Regions from separate parts of the Homo sapiens genome. Here regions 1, 2, 4 and 5 are each linked to region 3. The links are contacts of gene promoters, found by promoter capture Hi-C in blood cells and fetal thymus (Javierre and others, 2016). All regions are on one chromosome and are shown on one strand. The core of a region is centred on a gene start or on the middle of the fragment in contact, and the rest is flanking DNA. Distances in the headings are between cores, read along the strand shown. Region 1 overlaps EMC3-AS1 (EMC3 antisense RNA 1). Region 2 overlaps MTMR14 (myotubularin related protein 14). Region 3 holds the start of RPUSD3 (RNA pseudouridine synthase D3). Region 4 overlaps FANCD2 (FA complementation group D2). Region 5 overlaps FANCD2 (FA complementation group D2).

Evidence for each region. Contacts are between HindIII fragments. The CHiCAGO score rates a contact against its expected background, and 5 or more counts as called.
Region 1: a contact is called between a fragment that was not itself captured here and the fragment with the promoter of RPUSD3 in region 3, in 2 of 17 cell types (activated CD4 T cells and total CD8 T cells). The highest score is 5.7, in activated CD4 T cells.
Region 2: a contact is called between a fragment that was not itself captured here and the fragment with the promoter of RPUSD3 in region 3, in 1 of 17 cell types (neutrophils). The highest score is 5.6, in neutrophils.
Region 4: a fragment that was not itself captured here is called in contact with the fragment with the promoter of RPUSD3 in region 3 in 8 of 17 cell types (activated CD4 T cells, megakaryocytes, erythroblasts and 5 more); the score reaches 10.3 in activated CD4 T cells.
Region 5: a contact is called between a fragment that was not itself captured here and the fragment with the promoter of RPUSD3 in region 3, in 1 of 17 cell types (activated CD4 T cells). The highest score is 5.0, in activated CD4 T cells.

The regions. Positions count from the first base shown.
Region 1 is chr3:9,989,366-9,993,668 of GRCh38, reverse strand. All of the region lies in intron 2 of EMC3-AS1 (EMC3 antisense RNA 1), which reads right to left. It also overlaps a transcript of EMC3 not described here and the pseudogene FANCD2P1. Among named protein-coding and RNA genes, the nearest start is that of EMC3-AS1, 4.6 kb to the right of the region's middle. The HindIII fragment of the contact is 3,447 bases long and covers 618-4,064 here.
Region 2 is chr3:9,660,812-9,664,946 of GRCh38, reverse strand. It overlaps MTMR14 (myotubularin related protein 14), which reads right to left. Exons shown (of 19, transcript NM_001077525.3): 3 at 2,572-2,680. Among named protein-coding and RNA genes, the nearest start is that of MTMR14, 13 kb to the right of the region's middle. The HindIII fragment of the contact is 2,491 bases long and covers 1,596-4,086 here.
Region 3 is chr3:9,841,677-9,845,415 of GRCh38, reverse strand. RPUSD3 (RNA pseudouridine synthase D3) reads left to right here and starts at 1,408. Exons shown (of 9, transcript NM_173659.5): 1 at 1,408-1,526; 2 at 1,815-1,951; 3 at 3,173-3,217; 4 at 3,334-3,433. The coding sequence starts at 1,426. RefSeq lists an enhancer at 1,466-1,545. The HindIII fragment of the contact is 7,859 bases long and covers 1-3,298 here.
Region 4 is chr3:10,029,814-10,034,197 of GRCh38, reverse strand. FANCD2 (FA complementation group D2) reads right to left here. Exons shown (of 44, transcript NM_001018115.3): 3 at 1,226-1,366. Among named protein-coding and RNA genes, the nearest start is that of FANCD2, 5.6 kb to the right of the region's middle. The HindIII fragment of the contact is 752 bases long and covers 1,283-2,034 here.
Region 5 is chr3:10,084,531-10,088,345 of GRCh38, reverse strand. It overlaps FANCD2 (FA complementation group D2), which reads right to left. Exons shown (of 44, transcript NM_001018115.3): 33 at 2,424-2,534; 34 at 1,082-1,212. It also overlaps a transcript of FANCD2OS not described here. Among named protein-coding and RNA genes, the nearest start is that of FANCD2OS, 22 kb to the left of the region's middle. The HindIII fragment of the contact is 7,979 bases long and covers 1-3,815 here.

The DNA.
Region 1 (4,303 bases), core at 1,092-3,591, 150 kb before region 3:
TACATTTAGTAGTAAGCTGGGTATAATGCTTTATTGGGGAAAATGCAATGAAAAATTACATATGGTTTCCGTGTCTAGAAAATTACAGCCCAAAACACATATAACTGGCAGAAATAAACACAGAAAAGAACTGCTAGATGAAATAAGACAAACATTAAATCTATTCCTAAATATAAAATGTAAGATCCAATGAGGTATTCTCATTAGCTCCTAACCCAAACCCCAAACTACTGGCCCATCCAGTTTTCTAAGTTCTATACTGTTAATATACTGAACGTTCAGCCAGCAAAACATTATTCCCAGTTTATAAATTCCAGTTTGAATAATTTACATTTCCAGAGGAATTATCACCTAAAATCCAGTTTTGAATGGCCAAAGAGTGATAGTTCAAATAGGTCCATATTTACGTTTCTACTAGTTTCTACAGCCTGGTCCTATTCCCCTCAAGGTTTTTATAAGCTACTTAGAATAGGATACGAAAGGCTAGTTTGTCATAATTGCAAACTGCATTGAGATAGACAATTAAAATGTTAATGCAAAAATAAAATTCAAAAATTTCAATGGGTTTGAACAATGGACTGAAATAAGATGAAATTTTACATGAGAGCTGTAAAGCTTTCTGTTTTAGATTAAAAATCAATAGTCTCTGACACTTACTAAGTAATGAACAGAGAATGTACTCTGGAGCAGCTGTTCTTGAATGCAGCCTGATCGAATCTTATTTCTTAGCACCCTTTCAATGTACTTCTTTGTCTGAGTATTGGTGCTATAGATGATGAAAAGCATCACCAGGTCAATAAATATGCAATAATAGAAAAACAGTTAACCAATCAGTACATTTGCTACAATGAAACAGCAGCTTTTCCTCTAATTAAAACACACAATGGATGATGCTCATTTGTTCCACACACTCCCCTGGTAGTATCTACACTTTTCACAAAACCCAGAAATATTTTTTAAAGAAATAAAGTGCCACAACTATTAACCACTGGTATCTCTTAGGAATACATTCCAATATACATTAAAGTGATACTACTACAGAAGTAACTTTGAACATCTTCACATTTATTAAAAGATTCAATCACTTGCCAACTCCAGTATGTATTTTCACTATTACTAGAAAAATTACTTTGTGAAAAGTTGGAAAGACTATAAATGCCCATCAATCTGGAAAGGGTTCAGTAAATTATGATGGAGTAATTTTAATTTTTGAAATATTATAGTCATCAAAAAGGATAAGCCAGGCTGGGCGTGGGGGCTCACACCTGTAATCCCAGTACTTTGGGAGGCTGAGGTACACATATCACCTGAGGTTAGGAGTTCGAGACCAGCCTGGCCAACACGGTGAAACCCCATTTCTACTAAAAAATACAAAAAAAAATTGGCCAGTCGTGGTGGCAACTGCCTGCAATCCCAGCTACTCAGGAGGCTGAGGCAGGTCAACGACTCGAACCCGGGAGGTGCAGGTTGCAATGAGCCGAGATTGTGCCACTGCACTCCAGCCTGGGTGACACAGCGAGACTCTGTCTAAAAAAGACTTTTTAATTACAAAATTTAAAAAAAAAAGAAAAAGGTAGATCAGGGGTCCCCAACTCCTGGATCACGGAGTCTGTGGTCTGCTAGGAACCAAGCTGCACAGCAGGAGGTGAGGGGTGGTCAAGTGGTCATTACCACTGAGATCCGCCTCCTGTCAGATTAGCGGCTGCATTAGATTCTCACGGGAGCGCAAACCCCATTGTGAACTGCACATGCGCAGGATCTAGGCTGCACATTCCTTATGAGAATCTAAGTAGTGCCTGATGATCTAAAGTTGAACAGTTTCATCCTGAAATCATGCCCCGAAACGGTCTGTGGAAAAACTGTCTTCCATGAAACCAGTCCCTGGTGCCAAAAAGGTTAGGGACTGCTGAGCCATACTCTATTTTTTGACAGAGGAAAGACATTCCTGATATGAAGTGGAAAAAACAGCAGCCTGCAAAAGGATAATCAGGCTGGGCATGAAGGCTCATGCCTATAATCCCACTGCTTTGGGAGGCTGAGGAGGGAGGATCATTGAGCCCAGGAGGTGGAGGCAACAGTGAGCTACGATTGTGCCACTGCACTCCAGCCTGGCGACAGAGTGAGACCCTGTCTCTTTAAACACCACCACCACCACCCATAATCATAGTTAAGATTCTGCTTTTGTAAAAACAATATATAAACATATATATGTGTAGGCATAAGAGTATACCTGTACTTGCACACAATTACAGCTTGTATATGAAGAGAAAAAATTTGGAAGGATGATTACCCCTGAGGAATGGGAAAGAGAGCAGAGAAAAACTGTATTTTTTACATCTGTAGATTCCTTGTGGATTTTTCTCCACAATTAGCTTGTTTACCTAAGTTTAAAAAAGAAAAATATGAGGGCTGGGTGCAGTGGCTCATGCCTATAATCCCAGCACTTTGGGAGGCCCAAGCAGGAGGATCACTTGAAGCTAAAAATTTGAGACCAGCCTGGGAAACACAGCAAGACCTCATCTCTATAAAAAATAAAAGAATGGCCGGGCGCGGTGGCTCACACCTGTAATCCCAGCACTTTGGGAGGCCAAGGCGGGCAGATCACGAGGTCAGGAGATCGAGACCATCCTGGCTAACATGGTGAAACCCCGTCTCTACTAAAAATACAAAAAATTAGCCAGGCGAGGTGGTGGGCGCCTATAGTCCCAACTACTCAGGAGGCCGAGGCAGGAGAATGGCGTGAACCCGGGAGGCGGAGCTTGCAGTGAGCCGAGATCGTGCCACTGCACTACAGCCTGGGCGACAGCGAGACTCCGTCTCAAAAAATAAATAAATAAATAAATAAATAAAAGAATTGGCCAGGCGTGGTGGCTCACACCTGTAATCCTAGCACTTTGGGAGGCTGAGGCAGGTGGGTGGATCACCTGAGTCAGGAGTTTGAGACTAGCCTGGCCAATATGGTGAAATCCCATCTCTGCTAAAAATACAAAAATTAGCCAGGCATGGTGGCAGGCACCTATAATCCCAGCTACTAGGGAGGCTGAGGCAGGAGATTTGCTTCAACCCAGGGGCCAGAGGTTGCAGTGAACCGAGATTGTGGCACTTCACTATAGCCTAGGCAAAAGAGCGAAACTCTCTCAAAATAACTAACTAACTAACTAACAGAATTAGCCAGGCCTGGTGGTGCTTGCCTGTAGTCCCAGCTACTCCAAAGACTGAGGTGGGGGGATCGCTTGAACCCGGGTGTTTGAGACTGCAATGAACTATGATGCTGTCACCGCACTCCACCTTCGGTGACAGAGCAAGACTTAGTCTCTTAAAAAAAAAAAAAAAAAAAAAAAAAGAGAAAGGCCCGGCACGGTGGCTCACACCTGTAATCCCAGGACTTTGGGAGGCTGAGGTGGATCATAAGGTCAGGAGATCCAGACCATCCTGGCTAACAACGTGAAACCCCATCTCTACTAAAAATACAAAAAATTAGCCGGGCGTGGTGGCAGGCGCCTGTAGTCCCAGCTACTCGGGAGGCTGAGGTAGAAGAATGGCATGAACCCAGGAGGTGGAGCTTGCAGTGAGCTGAGATTGCGCCACTGCCTGCACTCCAGCCTGGGTGACAGAGCAAGACTCTGTCTCAAAAAAAAAAGAGAAAACACTGGGAGTGTATTCAGGGCAATCTGAGTCTATGCTTCCAGGAAAAAAAAAAAAAAAAAGTTAAAAAGGCAAGCAGGACAAAAAAGAAAAAACAAATTTTACTACTTCTCTTAACTGAATGCTCCACTTCTTAGGACACCAAAATTTAGAGTCATTAGACCAGAATACAGTCATTAAAGATAACAATGAAGACAAAGCAGAAGCACATGGAGAAGAAAATGTTGAGAAAAAAGAATACAAATTATATTTATATTTATAAAATGATTACAAATACGTAAAAATAGGTATGCAGGCAGTCAAGGTGTTAAATTTGTGTTTATCTAAAACCAAAAACAGTGTGTTTGGAGTACTTTGATATTTCTCACCACAAAAAGTTATTCATTTTTTTCATTGCTTTATTCATCATCATGAAAGCTTTTAAGATAGTCATCCCAAAATTGGATAACAAAACTAACAAAAATCCCACAAAACAGATTCCAACCAAAGAAAAATCTTTAAAGGCAACCAATCAGCACCTAAGGAACTCAATCATCTGGCTTTTTATCTTTTGAGATGGAGTCTTGCACTGTCGCCCAGGCTGGAGTGCAGTGGCGTGTGCCACCAGGCCAGGCTAATTTTTTTTTTGTATTTTTAGTAGAGACGGGGTTTCGCTACA
Region 2 (4,135 bases), core at 1,592-4,091, 180 kb after region 3:
TCCATCACCTCAAGCATTTATCCTCTATGTTACAAACAATCCAATTATACACTTATTTTTAAATGTACAATAAATTATTGTTGACTGCAGTCACCCTGTTGTACTATCAAATACTAGATCTTACTCATTCTAACTATATTTTTGCACCCATTAACCATCCCCACTCCTCCCCCTTGTTCCTGTCAGAACCCTTTCCTAGTCTCTGGTAACCATAACTCTACTCTCTATCTTCATGAGTTCAATTGTTTTAATTTTTTTAGCTTTCAAATAAGTGAGAACATGTGAAGTTTGTCTTTTTGTGCCTGGCTTATTTCACTTAACATAATGACCTCCAGTTCTATCCATGCTGATACAAATGACAGGATCTCATTATTTTTCATGGCTGAATGGTACTCCATTGCATACATGTACCATATTTTCTTTATCCATTCATCTGTTGATGGACATTTAGGTTGTGGAAGCAAGCATTTCTTAACACAGTGGAAGCAAGCATTTCTTAACACAACTCTCTCTCTTCCTCAACCTGGTAGAGGTTGGTGTCCCTAAAGTATTGTTGGTAATAATGCTGCCACCATCATACTAGTTCCTCAGTGCCTACCGTGAGCCACATGTCTGACCTAACACAGGCCTCTCTGCTACAGGACTTCTCAGAGCCTTAACTATATGAACATACATTTATCAATCTATTTGAAGAATCTAGTATGCAGTATTTCGAATTCTTATTTGACAGATAATGCTTTTCGCAAGCATGTCCTTAAACTGCTATTCTATGGAAACACTGGTTGGAGTATCTCCCGTGCAACCTCTAATGACAAGCGCTGTGCTGCACAGGGTGGTACTCTTTCAAATGAAGTTGCAGGCCAGGCGTGGTGGCTCACGCCTGTAGTCCCAGCACTTTGGGAGGCTGAGGCGGGCGGATTACCTGAGGTCAGCAGTTTGAGAGCAGCCTGGCCACCATGGCGAAACCCCGTCTCTACTAAAAATACAAAAATTAGCTGGGTGTGGTGACATGCTCCTGTAATCCCAGCTACTCGGGAGGCTGAGGCAGGAGAATTGCTTGAACCCGGGAGGTGGAGGTTGCAGTGAGCCAAGCTTGGGCCACTGCACTCCAGCCTGGCAACAGAAGAGACTCCAGGCCGTGCGCGGTGGCTCACGCCTGTAATCCCAACACTTTGGGAGGCCGAGGCAGGAGGATCACAAGGTCAGGAGATCGAGACAATCCTGGCTAACACGGTGAAGCCCCGTCTCTACTGAAAATGCAAAAAATTAGCCGGGCGTGGTGGCGGGTGCCTGTAGTCCCAGCTACTCGGGAGGCTAAGGCAGGAGAATGGCGTGAACCCGGGAGGCGGAGCTTGCAGTGAGCTGAGATCGCACCACTGCACTCCAGCCTGGGCAGCAGAGCAAGATGTCTGCTGCCTCAAAAAAAAAAAAAAAAAAAAAAAAAAGAGAGAGACTCCATCTCAAAAAAAAAAAAGTTGCAATAACTTTCGGGAACATGAAAACTTTCCAAAGTGGCAACAGCTTTAAGAAGATCAATTTCTAGGACCTAACTTCCATACATACTTTTCCCTAAAACTGATCTGAAGAAGAAAGCTTTTGGCAGAGTCTCCCTTCCTTCCTCCTCTTTCCCAATTTACAAAAAAGGCACACCAGGGACTGAGACAACAGTCAGACTCTCCCCATTGCCCTGCCCTTGACCACTGAGACACTCAGATACCAGCTAAAGGAATGAATAGACTGAATTCCGCTCCCTTCCCCTCTGAGGCTCTCTGTATGTCAGTCCACTCTTCTTGGACCAATTTTCGCACCGTTGCTACTTGCATTCGGAATTTCCCCGCTCAAACGTCACAATGGCTCTCCTAGCAAACACAGAGCCACCTCCCTGCTCAGCGTTCAGCCGTCTTCATTCAATCCCCTCCATCCTCTGCCCTGATGTGTACCCTCTACTTAGGGAAGTTACTTAGTCACTCTCAGCCTCTGTTTCATCTGCAATGAAATGGGCACATCCCGTACACCAAAAGATAGATAAAAATGAAACCAAACTGGGGAGCCAAATTAAATTAACAAAAGTCCTTAGAATATAAGCTCCATGACAATAAAGATTTTTGTCTGCTTTACATGGTGATGTATTTTAAGGCCTGAAGCAGTGTCTGGCACATAATATACAATAAATACTTGGTGAATTATATAATTGAAAGAATGGAAAAACAATATAGGAACTCATTTGATTTAATCTAATCCACAAACCTTTGAAATAGGTGATTATTATTCTTAATTTATAGGAGAGGAAAAGGAGGCTCTGCATAGGCAGGAAATAAGAGTCAGGATCTGAACCTAGGCAGTCTGGCTCTGGAACACGGGGTGGGGTATGCTGGTGTGACCATCCCTTCTCTACCTAGAACCATCCTTCAGTCAGAATTGGTCTGTTTCTCTGGACTGCTTCCCACAACACCCAGTAACCACCCAATGCTTGGCTACTAATGTTGAGGGAAAAAAAGACCCTATACTTTGCAGTAAGTCAGCTACCCCAGAAGAGAGTCGTGGAGCATGAAGCTATGGTATGGGCCTTACCTTGCCCTTGAACAGGATTACTGGGCAGACAAACCGTCCTCTGCACCGGGCCATCTTGCTGCGGTGGATGAGGTCTTGCAACTTGCTCACCTGTACGGTACTCTCAAACCTAACACACAGGCAAGAGAAGCAGGTCAAGCTGACTTTGAAGTGGGCACTTTGTGTATATGTGTTTATTCACACAGACCCCCATACTAGATCTGTGTACATAATGCTTGCTTGAAATTAAATGTCATTCCTAAATTTTATATCATCTATCATCTGTCTGTCTATCTATCTATTTTTTTGAGACGGAGTTTCACTGTTGTTGCCCAGGCTAGAGTGCAGTGGCGCAATCTTGGCTCACCACAGCCTCTGCCTCCCGGGTTCAAGCAATTCTCCTGTCTCAGCCTCCCGAGTATGCTGTGACTACAGGTGTGAGCCACCACACCTGGGTAATTTTTTTATTTTTGGTAGAGACGGGGTTTCACCACGTTGGCCAGGCTGGCCTCAAACTCCTGACCTCAGGCGATCCGCCCACCTCGGCCTCCCAAAGTGCCGGGATCACAGGCATGAGATATATTAAGTTTTTCAGGAAAAAAAAAAAGTGCTAATTATAGGTATTAAAACTTAAATCACTCTGATTTCTGAACCTTTAAGATAAAAAAAAAGTGAGCTAAACTGAAGACATATACAAAATTCAGAAATATACACAGAAAACTGGATATTATGTCTAGGGTGTCCAATTTTTAACTCCCAGGATAAGACCTGGTGCCCTAGGGACCCTCTCTGGAAATCACAGGACCATTTTTGTGACTATCTATTTTTTGCATAACTCTGAATATGTATTTTTGTGATCTTTTAGAGCAAGCAGTCCCCAGGCCCTGAGCCCCAGATCAGTACGAGTCCATGCCCCATTAGGAACCAGGAGGTGAGCAGCAGGCAAGTGAGCATTACCGTCTGACTTCCACCTCCTGTCAGATCATCAGTGGCGGCATTATATTCTCATAGGAGCTCGAACCCTATTGTGAACTCCGCATGTGAGGGACTGGGGTTGCAGAGAATCTAATGCCTCATGATCTGAGGTGGAACAGTTTCATCTGAAACCATTTTCTCCACCCTGCCGTGGAAAAATTGTTTTCCATGAAACCAGTCCCTGGTGCCAAAAAGGTTGGGGAGTGCTGTTTTAGAGGGCAGAATGAGATGACGTTTCTTGGTCCACATGGCTCTAGGCCTCTGCTTTCACAGTCCATATGGCCAACAGCGCACAGAGCAAAGGAGGCATAAGAGAAGCCATGTGTGACACAGGGACGTGTAGTAGTTAATGCACTGGGCTTGGTAAGTGAGCTTCTAGAACTTGAGAGTGAGGTTTAGAAGTTAGCTCCAGCAAGTCATACCCATATCAAATCACGCTTCCCTAAAATAAGGGTCCGCTCTCATAAACTCACCTACCAACCTTTAGCAAAGCTCACCCCAGCCAGTCAGAGCTTCTGGTAGCAACAGAAACAGGAGGCAGGAAAGTTAGAGCAGGAAGCTTTCCCAGCTACACAGAGTAACCAAGTAGAAGGAAGGAAAAATACTCATG
Region 3 (3,739 bases), core at 159-2,658:
CTGTAATCCTAGCACTTTGGGAGGCCAAGGCGGGCGGATTGCCTGAGCTCAGGAGTTCGAGACCAGCCTGGGCGACATGGTGAAACCCCGTCACTAAAATACAAAAAATTAGCCGGGTGTGGTGGCGGGCACCGCACCTGTAATTCCAGCTACTCAGGAGGCAAAGGCAGGGGAATCGCTTGAACCCGGGAGGTGGAAGTTGCAGTGAGTCGAGATCGGGCCACTGCACTCTAGCCTGGGTGACAGAGCGAGACTCTGTCTCCAAAAAACAAAAACCAAAACACATTAGGAAAATGTTCACACCAAACTCAAAGTGGAGACTGGGGAGGGAGTGAAAACTGGAAGCACGCAGTAAAGGGGAATTTACTTTTATCCCTTTCATTTCTTAAACAAGAAAAACAGGAAACCTATACATATATATATTGTTTCACAATGACTAATTCTGATGGTAGGAATGTGGGCAGTCATTATATTATTCTTTTTTTTCTGTGTTCTTCTACTTTCTTTTTCTTTTTTCTTTTTTTTTTTTTTTTGAGACGGAGTCTCGCTCGTCGCCCAGGCTGGAGTGCAGTGGCACGATCTCGGCTCACTGCAAACTCCGCCTCCCGGGTTCACGCCATTCTCCTGCCTCAGCCTCCCGAGTAGCTGGGACTACAGGCGCCCGCCACCACGCCCGGCTAATTTTTTTGTATTTTTGGTGGAGACGTGGTTTCACCGTGTTAGCCAGGATGGTCTCGATCTCCTGACTTCGAGGGGCCACAGGACTAGTAGAGCCAAGAGTTGAGGGTCCGGGTGGGGTGATCCGGCCGTCAGAAATGCAAAAGCCTGGAAAGACATCTCCAAAGGCCAATCTCAGGTTGGACAATCGTGAGCTGGGGAAGCTGCAAACACTGTGACCTCCGGAATAACCGCTGGTAATCAGTTACCTCTAACCCTTAGCAGAATTCAGGTCCCTCTACTACTCCTAACCTGGTGGCCTTTCATTAACTCTATGAAGCCAGTTTAGTTCGGGGGAAGGGCAATTATCATTTAGACTACGAACTAATTTCTCCCAAAGTTAGCTTGGCCCAAGCCCAGGAATGACCAAGGACCGTTTAGAGGTTAAAGGCAAGCTGCGGGTTGGTTAGATCAGATCTCTTTCGCTGTCATAATTTTGTAATATAATTTTTGCAAAGGCGGCTTCAGGTTTTTTGCTAAGACAGGTTTTTTGATCAGATCAAATTCTTCTGCTACAGCGCTCTCCCTAAAAGCATAGGAAGGCATTTCTGCATTTCCTTCCTGGGCGGAGGAAAAGCCCCGCCTCCTCAGGCTCTGAGTCCCGCCCGGTCACCATTCCGATTGACACTCCAGCTGACCAATCAGCGCGCTGGCTGGAGCGCGGGTCTGCCCCTCTGGACGCACATGCGCGCTGTCCTGGCTCGGGAGATGGACGGCCGCCGTGTTTTGGGCCGGTTCTGGAGTGGCTGGCGGCGGGGCCTGGGTGTCCGCCCAGTGCCCGAGGACGCAGGCTTTGGCACCGAAGCCCGGTGATTAAGTACCCCCTCTCTCATGCGGGACGGAGGCTAGGGCAGGGGGAAGGCACGTGCGGGATCTGGATCAGGTAGATGTTACCCGAAAACAGCCCCGTTGGCCTCTCTGAGCCTCGGTGCCCTCCGCTGTAGAATGGGACCGGTCGTACCTGAATTTTCGAGGTCAGCCCAGACATTGTGAGGCATTTGTCAGAGGCCGCAGGATTTGGGAAGAGGCGTCCGGAGATAGGAATGGGTGGCACCTCGGGATGGAATGACTCCCATTGCTTCTCCCTCCTTGTCCAGGCATCAGAGGCAACCCCGCGGCTCCTGCCAACGGTCGGGGCCCCTCGGGGACCAGCCCTTCGCGGGGCTGCTGCCAAAAAACCTCAGTCGGGAGGAGCTGGTTGATGCGCTGCGGGCAGCCGTGGTGGACCGGAAAGGTGAGGGGTGAGAGGCACGGCCGCACAAGGACCGGGAGGGGACTGCCTCGGCGTGCAGTTGGGCTCTCCATTGAAGCCACGGGATCAGCCCTGCTTCTGCCTCCCACTAGCAGCATGAGCTGGGACAAGCCACCTAATTTGCACCCTCTCCCCGCTTTTAACCCTACTGCCATGATGCAGTAGGGTTAAGAGTGGGGAGAAGATGCAAATAACTACCGAGCCTTGCACATAGCCGGCGCTCAGTTACGGGAGTTGCTATACTAGATTATTGTTTATTGGCCGCGGTGGCTCACGCCTGTAATCCCGGCACTTTAGGGTGCTGACGCGGGCGGATCACCTGAGGTCAGGAGTTCGAGACTAGCCTGGCCAACATGGTGAAACCCCGTCTCTACTAAAAACACAAAAATTAGCCAGGTGTGGCGGCGTCCGCCTGTAATCCCAGCTACTCGGGAGGCTGAGGCAGGAGAGTCACTTGAACCCGGATAGCAGAGGTTGCAGTGAGCCGACATCGTGCTACTGCGCTCCAGCCTGGGATGACAGAGCAAGACTCAGTCTAAATAAATAAATAAATAAATAATGATTATTTATCGACGGACAAAACACAGGCTTTGGAGTCAGACATACCTAGGCTCTGTGATCAGCTTGCTGTGCGGCTTTAGGAAAATAACTGAATTTCTCTGAACCCCACTCTCTATTCAGTGATTTATTCCTTTTCTCAACTATTTCTTGAACATATGCTATGTTCCAGGCACTGTTCTAGGCAGGCTATACAGTGCTGAAAAAGATAGATATGGTTTCTGCTCTCAGGGGAGAAATGGATTTCTCTCTAACGGGAGAAATGGATGTCAGAAAATAAATGAACAAGTTACTAGTGGTAAGTGCTATGCATAAACTAAAACAGGGTGTTATGATGGTGAGGAACTGCAGGAGGAAGGCAGACATTAGATTGGAGATTCAGACCTCTCCGTGATGTGACATTTGAGCCAAGATGATAGGGAGCCAGACCTGGGAAATTTGGGGACAGGAAACAGCAAGTGCCGAGGCTCTGAGGTGGCAGAGGAACAGAAAGAAGTTGAATTTGGTGTGGGGTAGTTAACTCATGTCTGAGAGTCATGATGGGGACATGTGCTAAGATGCGTGAGAAAGTGCTCTGGAAACTCTTTAGTGCTGCATAAAGGGTTACCGTTGCTTTTGCTGATGTTCGTGTGATGTATGTTTCAGGACCTCTAGTGACGTTGAACAAGCCACAGGGTCTACCAGTGACAGGTATGGGCCGGGGATGTGGGAAGGGAATGCAGCGGAAGGGGGTTTCGTGACTGAGGGAGGGAAAAGTGAAGGCATGAAGCTTTGGCCTCTTGTAATTTTTCTTTCTTACTTTCCAGGAAAACCAGGAGAGCTGACGTTGTTCTCAGTGCTGCCAGAGCTGAGCCAGTCCCTAGGGCTCAGGGAGCAGGAGCTTCAGGTTGTCCGAGCATCTGGGAAGTAAGTGGTAGGGGTGACAGGAAGCTAGGAGTACAGGCATCCATCTGTGGTGGGGAAACAGCTGCTTGGGGATAAGCTGAGACATTTTCCATGGGAAGGTTTGAGATCATAGAGGTGGATACAAGTACTGTGAAGAAGAGGAAGCCGATGGCTCTGGGTTCAAATCCTCAAGTACAAATGGTGTGATACCAGGCAAAGCATGACACCTCCCTGACGCTGGGCACAGTGACTCACACCTGTAATCCCAACACTTCTGGAGGCCAAGGCAAGAGGATCACTTGAGCCCAGGAGTTCGAGACCAGCCTG
Region 4 (4,384 bases), core at 409-2,908, 190 kb before region 3:
CACGTTTTTTTTTGTTTTGTTTCGTTTTTTGTATTTTTAGTAGAGACAGGGTTTCACTGTGTTAGCCAGGATGGTCTCGATTTCCTGACCTCGTGATCCACCCTCCTCAGCCTCCCAAGTGCTGGGATTACAGGCATAAGCCACTGTGCCCAGCCCAGAGTCATGGGGTTGTGTCTAAACCCACATAAAAGACTTAGCTTTGGCTGGGCGCGGTGGCTCATGCCTGTAATCCCAGCACTTTGGGAGGCCGAGGCAGGTGGATCACAAGGTCAGGAGATCAAGACCATCCTGGCTAACACGGTGAAACTCCGTCTCTACTAAAAATACAAAAAATTAGTCAGGCATGGTGGCGGGCGCCTGTAGTCCCAGCTACTTGGGAAGCTGAGGCAGAATGGTGTGAACCTGGGAGGTGGAGCTTGCAGTGAGCAGAGATCGCGCCACTGCACTCCAGCCTGGGCGACAGAGCAAGACTCCGTCTCAAAAAAAAAAAAAAAAAAAAGACTTAGCTTTGATAGCAGATAGCCACTAAGTGTTCTAAAAAAGACCTGCCATAACCTTAGCAAGATAGAATAATCTGCTCCCCCAAAACAGAATCTTATATGGCTTTATAAATTTTCTTCTGAAATTATTCTGACACTGATACAGCTGCTTTCTGGATATTTATTTTTTCATAAGAAAACACAAAATAAATAATATATAATATTTTTTCTAATAAAAGGATGAGAAATGCTTTACTTAAGACATAGTAATGAGGACCAAAGACTGTACCATTTTCTTTTTCCATTTTTGTTTTTTGGAAATGGAGTCTCACTCTTGTCGCCCAGGCTGGAGTGCAGTGGTGCGATCTTGACTCACTGCAACTTTCACCTCCCGGGTTCAAGCAATTCTCCTGACTCAGGCGCCCAAGCAGCTGGGACTACAGGCACATGCCACCATGCCCGGCTAATTTTTTATATTTTAGTAGAGACGTGTTGCCCAGGCCGGTCGCAAATTCCTGAGCTCAGGCAATCCGCCTGCCTCGAGCCTCCCAAAGTGCTGGGATGATAAACGTGAGCCACCGCGCCCGGCCTGACTGTACCATTTTCTAAAAAGCAATTTCAACTTTGTCTCAAGATGGATGGCCCTCTGATTTCTAATCTTCATTGCCTCTCTATTTAGAAAACCCATGATTCAGTCCTGAACTATTTCATTAAACCCAGAGAATAAAATTAGATTAAAATATTACCTAGTTGATTCTGACTCTCTCCCGTTTTAAGAATAATTCCTGATATCTTAAGAAGCTTTACAAAGATGCTGTCATTTTCTTCAACTTCATTAGCAATATGAGATTTCTTTGTCTTTTTGGAAAGTGGTTGCTTCCTGGTTTCTGAAAATAGAAAAATTTTCAAGAATATGGCAAATAGTAAAGGAAAAATTAAAACTTAAACCCAGGAATAATAATCATGAGAGGAAAACTGATGTGTCCTTAAAAATTATACTAGGATTGATGCTGTAGTGAAATAAACTGTCTTCAGCAATAGTGGCTTCCAAAACAAACAAATAGAATTATTTTCACCTATTTTCATTTGAAGAATTCAAAATGTGCCATTTCTGGCCAGGCAAGGTGGCTCATGTGGTAATCCCAGCAAATTAGGAGGCCAAGGCAGGAGGATCACTTGAAGCCAGGAGTTCAAGACCAGCCTGGGCAACAAAGTGAGACCACCCCCCCATCTCCCCCCCTTCACCCCCATTCCCCCCCTCCACACACAAACTAGTTAGGTGAGGAGACGCACACCTGTAGTCCCAGCTACTTCGGAGGCTAAGGCGGAAGAATAACTTGAGCCCAGGAGGTTGAGGCTATAGTGAGCTATGATATTACCACTGCACTCCAGCCTGGGTGACAGAGTGAAATCCCCATCTCTAAAAAAATAAATTCAAACAAATAAGTGCCTAACAAGAATAACCCACAGAAATGTTTTCCACCCAAATACTAAACTAGCCAGTGTCTCTCAAGCTGTTGCCTGCAAACCACTGTACTGGAATCCCTGGGAAGCTTATTAAAATGCATATTTCCGACCCAGCACAGTGGCTCACGCCTGTAATCCCAGCACTTTGGGAGGCCGAGGCAGGCTGATTACCTGAGGTCAGGAGTTCAAGACCAGCCTGGCTAACGTGGTGAAACCCCATCTCTACTAAAAATACAAAATTAACTGGGTGTGGTGGCGTGCGCCTGTAATACCAACTACTCGGGAGGCTGAGGAGGAGAATCACTTGAACCCGGGAGGCAGAGGTTGCAGTGAGCCCAGATCGCGCCACTTCACTCCTGCCTGAGCAACAGAGTGACACTCTGTCTCAAAGGAAAAAAAAGGCATATTCCATGCCATATACCAGAGTTACTGAGTCAAAATCTTGGGAATGGGACCTAGGAATCCGAATTTTTTATGTTCTTCAGATAATAATCCTGATACACACCAAATTTGAGACTCAATGATCTGAATAAAGGGTAGACAGAATGGGGAAGGTTCTTTGTATCATATCTTTGACTACAATGCTCAGATAGGTTTAATCCCAAGACTTTCAACCCATAAAAAGAAATAAGAAACAAGAAACAAACAGGTACTTGAAGCCAAGTTTAAAATTTACTCTTCTCCCTTAATGATGCCATTTTGTTTTTTCCTTCTTCAATTCCTCTCCCTCTTTCTTTTTTTTTTTTTTTTGAAATGGAGTCTTGCTCTGTCGCCCAGGCTGGAGTGCAGTGGCGCGATCTTGGCTCACTGCAAGCTCCGCCTCCCGGGTTCATGCCATTCTCCTGCCTCAGCCTCCCAGTAGCTGGGACTACAGGTGCACACCACCACGCCCGGCTAATTTTTTGTATTTTTAGTAGAGACGGGGTTTCACCATGTTAGCCAAGATGGTCTCAATCTCCTGACCTCGTGATCTGCCCGCCTTGGCCACCCAAAGTGCTGGGATTACAGGCGTGAGCCACCGTGCCTGGCCTCCTTTCCCTCTTTCTAATAAAGCCTTAATCAGAATGAGACAAAGACCACTACCTTCCTGAATGAAATGTAAAACACAACCAGAATGAAAGTTTCAGTTTGTTCATTACTGACCAAGAGAACCCAAATCCCTTCTAATAAACTTAATTCAGAAGTCTCTTCTCTTTTGGAGAACAGTATTTCCAAAGTATAACATTTACTTTCAGTAATTTCCTATATTATTCCTCTTCAGTTTCAAATTTTCTACCAATTTCTCTATATTCTAATTCTAGAACCCCATTACTAATCAACCATTGGAGCTTCACAACTTCCTTTTTTTTTTGAGATAAGAGTCTTGCTCTGTTGCCCCGGCTGAAGGGCAGTGGCGTGATCTCAGCTCACTGCAACCTCCACCTCCGGGGTTCAAGCAATTCCCCTGCCTCAGCCTCCCGAGTAGCTGAGATTACAGACACGTGACACCACGCCCAGCTAATTTTTGTATTTTTAGTAGAGATGGGGTTTCACTATGTTGGCCAGGCTGATCTTGAACTCCTGACCTCAGGTGATCTGCCCGCCTTGGCCTCCCAAAGTGCTGGGATTACAGGTGTGAGCCACTGTGCCCGGCCCACAGTTTCCGTTTCTAAATCAAGCCTATTCCTTACATGGTTTTGGACTCACAATTTTTATCATTATAATCACTGTTCAGCAAGCATTTTCATCTATTTCGGTTGAATTGACCAAGAATCAGACTTAACTTCCAATAACCTAGTAAGAAATAACTCTTCAATCCACAAGTCAGTAGAAGCTAAGCTATGAGAATGCAAAGGCATTAAGAATGACATAATGAGGCCAGGCATGGTGGCTCACGTCCGATATCCCAGCACTTTGGGAGGCTGAGGTGGGTGGATTACCGGAGGTCAGGAGTTTGAGACCAGCCTGACTAACACGGTGAAACCCCTTCTCTACTAAAAATACAAAAATTAGCCAGGCATGATGGCATGTACATGTAATCCCAGCTACTTGGGCGGCTGAGCCAGGAGAATCGCTTGAACCCGGGAGGCGGAGGTTGCAGTGAGCCAAGATTGTGCCACTGCACTCCAGACTGGGCAACAAGAGCCAAACTCCATCTCAAAAAAAAAAAAAAAAATGATATAATGGGCCAGGCGTGGTGGCTCAAGCCTGTAATCCTTGCACTTTGGGAGGCCGAGATGGATGGATCACTTGAGGTCAGGAGTTCCAGACAGCCCCTGGCCAGCATGGTGAAACCCCGTCTCTACTAAAGATACAAAAAAATCAGCCGGGCATGGTGGCTGGCGCCTGTAATCCCAGCTACTCGGGAGACTGAGGCTGGAAAATCGCTTGAACCTGGGAGGTGGAGGTTGCAGTGAGCCGAGATTGTGCCACTGCACTCCAGCCTGGGTGACAGAGTG
Region 5 (3,815 bases), core at 1,101-3,600, 240 kb before region 3:
AGATTTACTAAGACGTTCCCGGTCTAACAGGCAACTTACAAAAAGCTGTCACGTTCCTGATCCACTGGCCCTTTTGCCAGACATAAACTCATTTGCCTAAGGCTCAACACGTCCCACCCCAACCCCATCTTGAAACACACAAACATGCAAACATGAACATAAATACAGACACACAGAGAAAAGGAATGCTGCTGGGCAGTGGGAAGGCCAATCTTGTTCCTCCTGGGCTGGCCAATAGCAGTGGTCACCTCCAAGATTGAGACCAAACCTTCCCCTTTTAATCAATAGGGATAAATAAAGGTTTGTTTTGCATTTTTATCTTGCTTTCTGATGTGCTGCCAACTAGGATGAGCTGCATTCTAAGAGCTACAATAAAAGACAGTTTAAGAAAGAGGCCAGGGCTGGGCACAGTGGCTCACGTCTGTAATCCCAGCACTTTGGGAGGCTGAGGCAGGTGGATCACGAGGTCAGGAGTTCGAGACCAGCCTGACCAACATGGTGAAACCCCGTCTCCACTAAAAATACAAAAATTGGCTGGGCACGGTGGTGCGCACCTGTAATCCCAGCTACTTGAAAGGCTGAGGCAGGAGAATCGTTTGAACCTGGGAGGTAGAGGATTGCAGTGAGCCAACATCGCACCACTGCACTCCAGCCTGGGTGACAGAACGAGACTCTGTCTCAAAAAAAAAGAAAAAGGCCAGGGAAGAGGCCAGTATTTCTTTTATACTTGACCCTGATTTCTCCTTTATTTCCTACTTTATTAACCTCATGATTTATGTCTCGTTTTGTCAAATGTCTCAGATAAATTTTTTTTTTTTGAAAAGGAAGAACATGATTAAACTTAAGCCAAAGAGAAAACTATCTACTCAGCTTGTCTAACCAAACTCAGACTAAGCAATTTTAGCAGAAATCAGTCAGGTTGTTCTGGGAAAATGACCTTCTTGGTATAGCAAGAGGGCCTATCCAAGGTTATGTGGGGATTTACATGTAAAAATGTCCTGGGAAGCCCAAAGTTTGTAAGTGTGAGATATTAGTCCTATTCATTAAAAAAAAAAAAAAAAAAAGGATCTAGGCCCATCACCAATTTTTTCTTTGTTCTGAGCAGAAGCTGTTGATTTCTCCAAAATAACCATCAAAAGTCTGATGAGATAAAGAGCACACTGGAAACTGGGAATGCTTTGATGGAAATTCTGCAAGTAATGGACGCTCTGGCTGTAAGGAGACAAGAAAAACAAACAAATGCAATAGTATCCTATGTGTCACAGATATATTTAAATCCACATGACGTGCCCAAGTCCCTTTCAGTGTTTGACGGCCTAATCAGAATCCTCCTTATTTTCAGGTGCTTTAGTAGCAACCCTCTTCAAGCATCTTGGTAGAAAACCATACCTTTGTATGGAAAAAGCCAGGGCAGAAGACAGCCCCACTGATGGAATGTTGGCCTTGAAGGGGTCATGTATGCTGAGAAACCCAAGCACCACGCTAATATGTACAACCCTAGATAAATTATCTGCTCTTTAAAGCCTTAGGCAATACACTGAAAATAATTTGTAAAATCTGGGTTCACAGGCCGGGCATGGTGACTTATGCCTGTAATCCTAGCACTTTGCTAGGCTGAGACAGGCAGATCACCTGAGCTCAGGAATTAGAGACCAGCCTGGCCACATGTCGAAAACATCTCTACAAAAATATAAAAATTAGTAGGGTGTGTCAGCATGCGCCTGTAATCCCAGCGTCTTGGGAGGCTGAGGCAGTACAATCACTTGAGCCCAGGAGGTGGAGGGTGCAGTGAGCTGGGATCACTCCAGCCTGGGTGACAAAGTGAGACTCTCTCTCAAAGAAAAAAAAAAGAAGATATAAGGTCCTGACCTATAGACAGGGATGATAAGCACTGACTGCTGACCCAGTGATGGTCTAGGTTACCAAGGGAAGTGAGAGAAAGACCAAGTCACTCTGACTGAAGGGGGAGGGGGCCGAAAGCCATGCCCCTGAGATCATGTCACCTCCCTTGTCCACTGCCTACCCCTCAGCCACATAAGGTCTTCCTACAAGACAAGGGGAAAGAAACAGGCTATCAGTGATAACTAGCTGCTGCCTAATTACCCAAATCTGCTGGGAGACAGTAGGTCCCTGGATAATCAAGAGTTGATTACAGATGGTCAATGTTTTCATCATTATTACTTGAAAAGGCTGAGTTTATGGGCTGATGCATTCATGAAGATTTAGCATGATTATTCAAGGTTTCTAATACTTCAGGATTTATCAGAATACATAGATGAGAAAGCTCATATATGAGGAGAGTAGCTGAAAATAATTTCCTTTACAACTACTGAAAGACACCCAGGTTATTTTAAAGAAAGTTGCCAATCCTGTTCCTAGGAGTTTCTTGGGACAACAATCTTGGCTATGTAGTTATGACTCACCTGAGTAGTTCCTCCAAAGGCTGGCTGTGTTCTCCCTGTTTCAGTCGGCTACTAAGGACATGGAGGGCTGAATACAGTAAATTCTGATTTTCAGGTTGAGAAAATCCACTCCTAAGGAAGTCAAGGTAAGAGGGGTTAGCTTAGTTTCTGGAAAACTACTTGGATAGTATTTAAGGATCCTGGCCTCCAGTCTGTACCATCAATAGTTTAACGGTTTGAAAAAAGAATTGAGAGGTCGGGCGTGGTGGCTCACACCTGTAATCCCAGCACTTCGGGAGGCTGAGGCGGGCGAATAACGAGGTCAACACATGGAGACCATCTTGGCCAACACGGTGAAATCCCGTCTCTACTAAAAATACAAAAATTAGCTGGGTGTGGTGGCGGGCACCTGTAGTCCCAGCTACTCCAGAGGCTGAGGCAGAAGAATCGCTAGAACTCGGGAGGTGGAGGCTGCAGTGAGCCGAGATTGTGCCACTGCACTCCAGCCTGGCGACAGAGCGAGACTCCATCTCAAAAAAAAAAAAAAAAGAAAGAAAAAAGAAAAAAGAATTGAAATGGAAAGTACTGAAGTACCAAATTCAATCACAGCTCTAAGTATCAGAGTAGAAACTGAAGTACATCCAAAGTAATCTTTCCTGAAGTCTTCATAGGTTTCTTTTCTTCTTTCCTCTTTCTTTTCACAGGGGTGAGCCACCACGCCTGGGCCATAGGTTTACTTTGAAGGGCAAAAAGCTCTCCTTCATTCCCTATATTTTAGAGATATGTAGTCTTCTTCAAAAATACAGGAATAATTTTGTCAAACTGCTAAATCAATGTCCAGCCCATAGTGGTACTTACCCCTTCTCCTACATTAATGAGTCAAGTCTTGACATTTCTATCTTTGGATTACCTTTCATATTGTCCCTTCCTTTCCAAGCCTAGACCATCATTTTGGCCAGGCCCCTATCAATACATGTGTAGATCATAGTGACACCTTTTGAGTGTTCTTTTTTGCATCCCTTTTCAATCTGTCCTGCACTCTGCTGCCAGAAGTGTTTTCTTAAACCACTGCTTTCATTGTATTATGGCTGTGATCATAAAACTCCAAAATGGCTTCCCTGGACAACATTTAAATTATTCTGCCTGACCTTTGAGGCCCAGCACAATCTGACGTCCTAGATCTTCTCCTCTAGAAGCATCTTCCTGATCACCAGTGATAGTCATTCTTCCTTTCAACAAATGTATTCTGAGGGCCTATTAGGTGTCAGGTTTTTGGTCTACCATAGCTTCAATGAGATATAGTTGATGTACAATACACTTCATGTACTTAAAATGTTGAATTTGGGCCAGGTATGGTGGCTCACGCCTCTAATGCCAGCACTTTGGGAGGCTGAGGCGGGTGGATCACTTGAG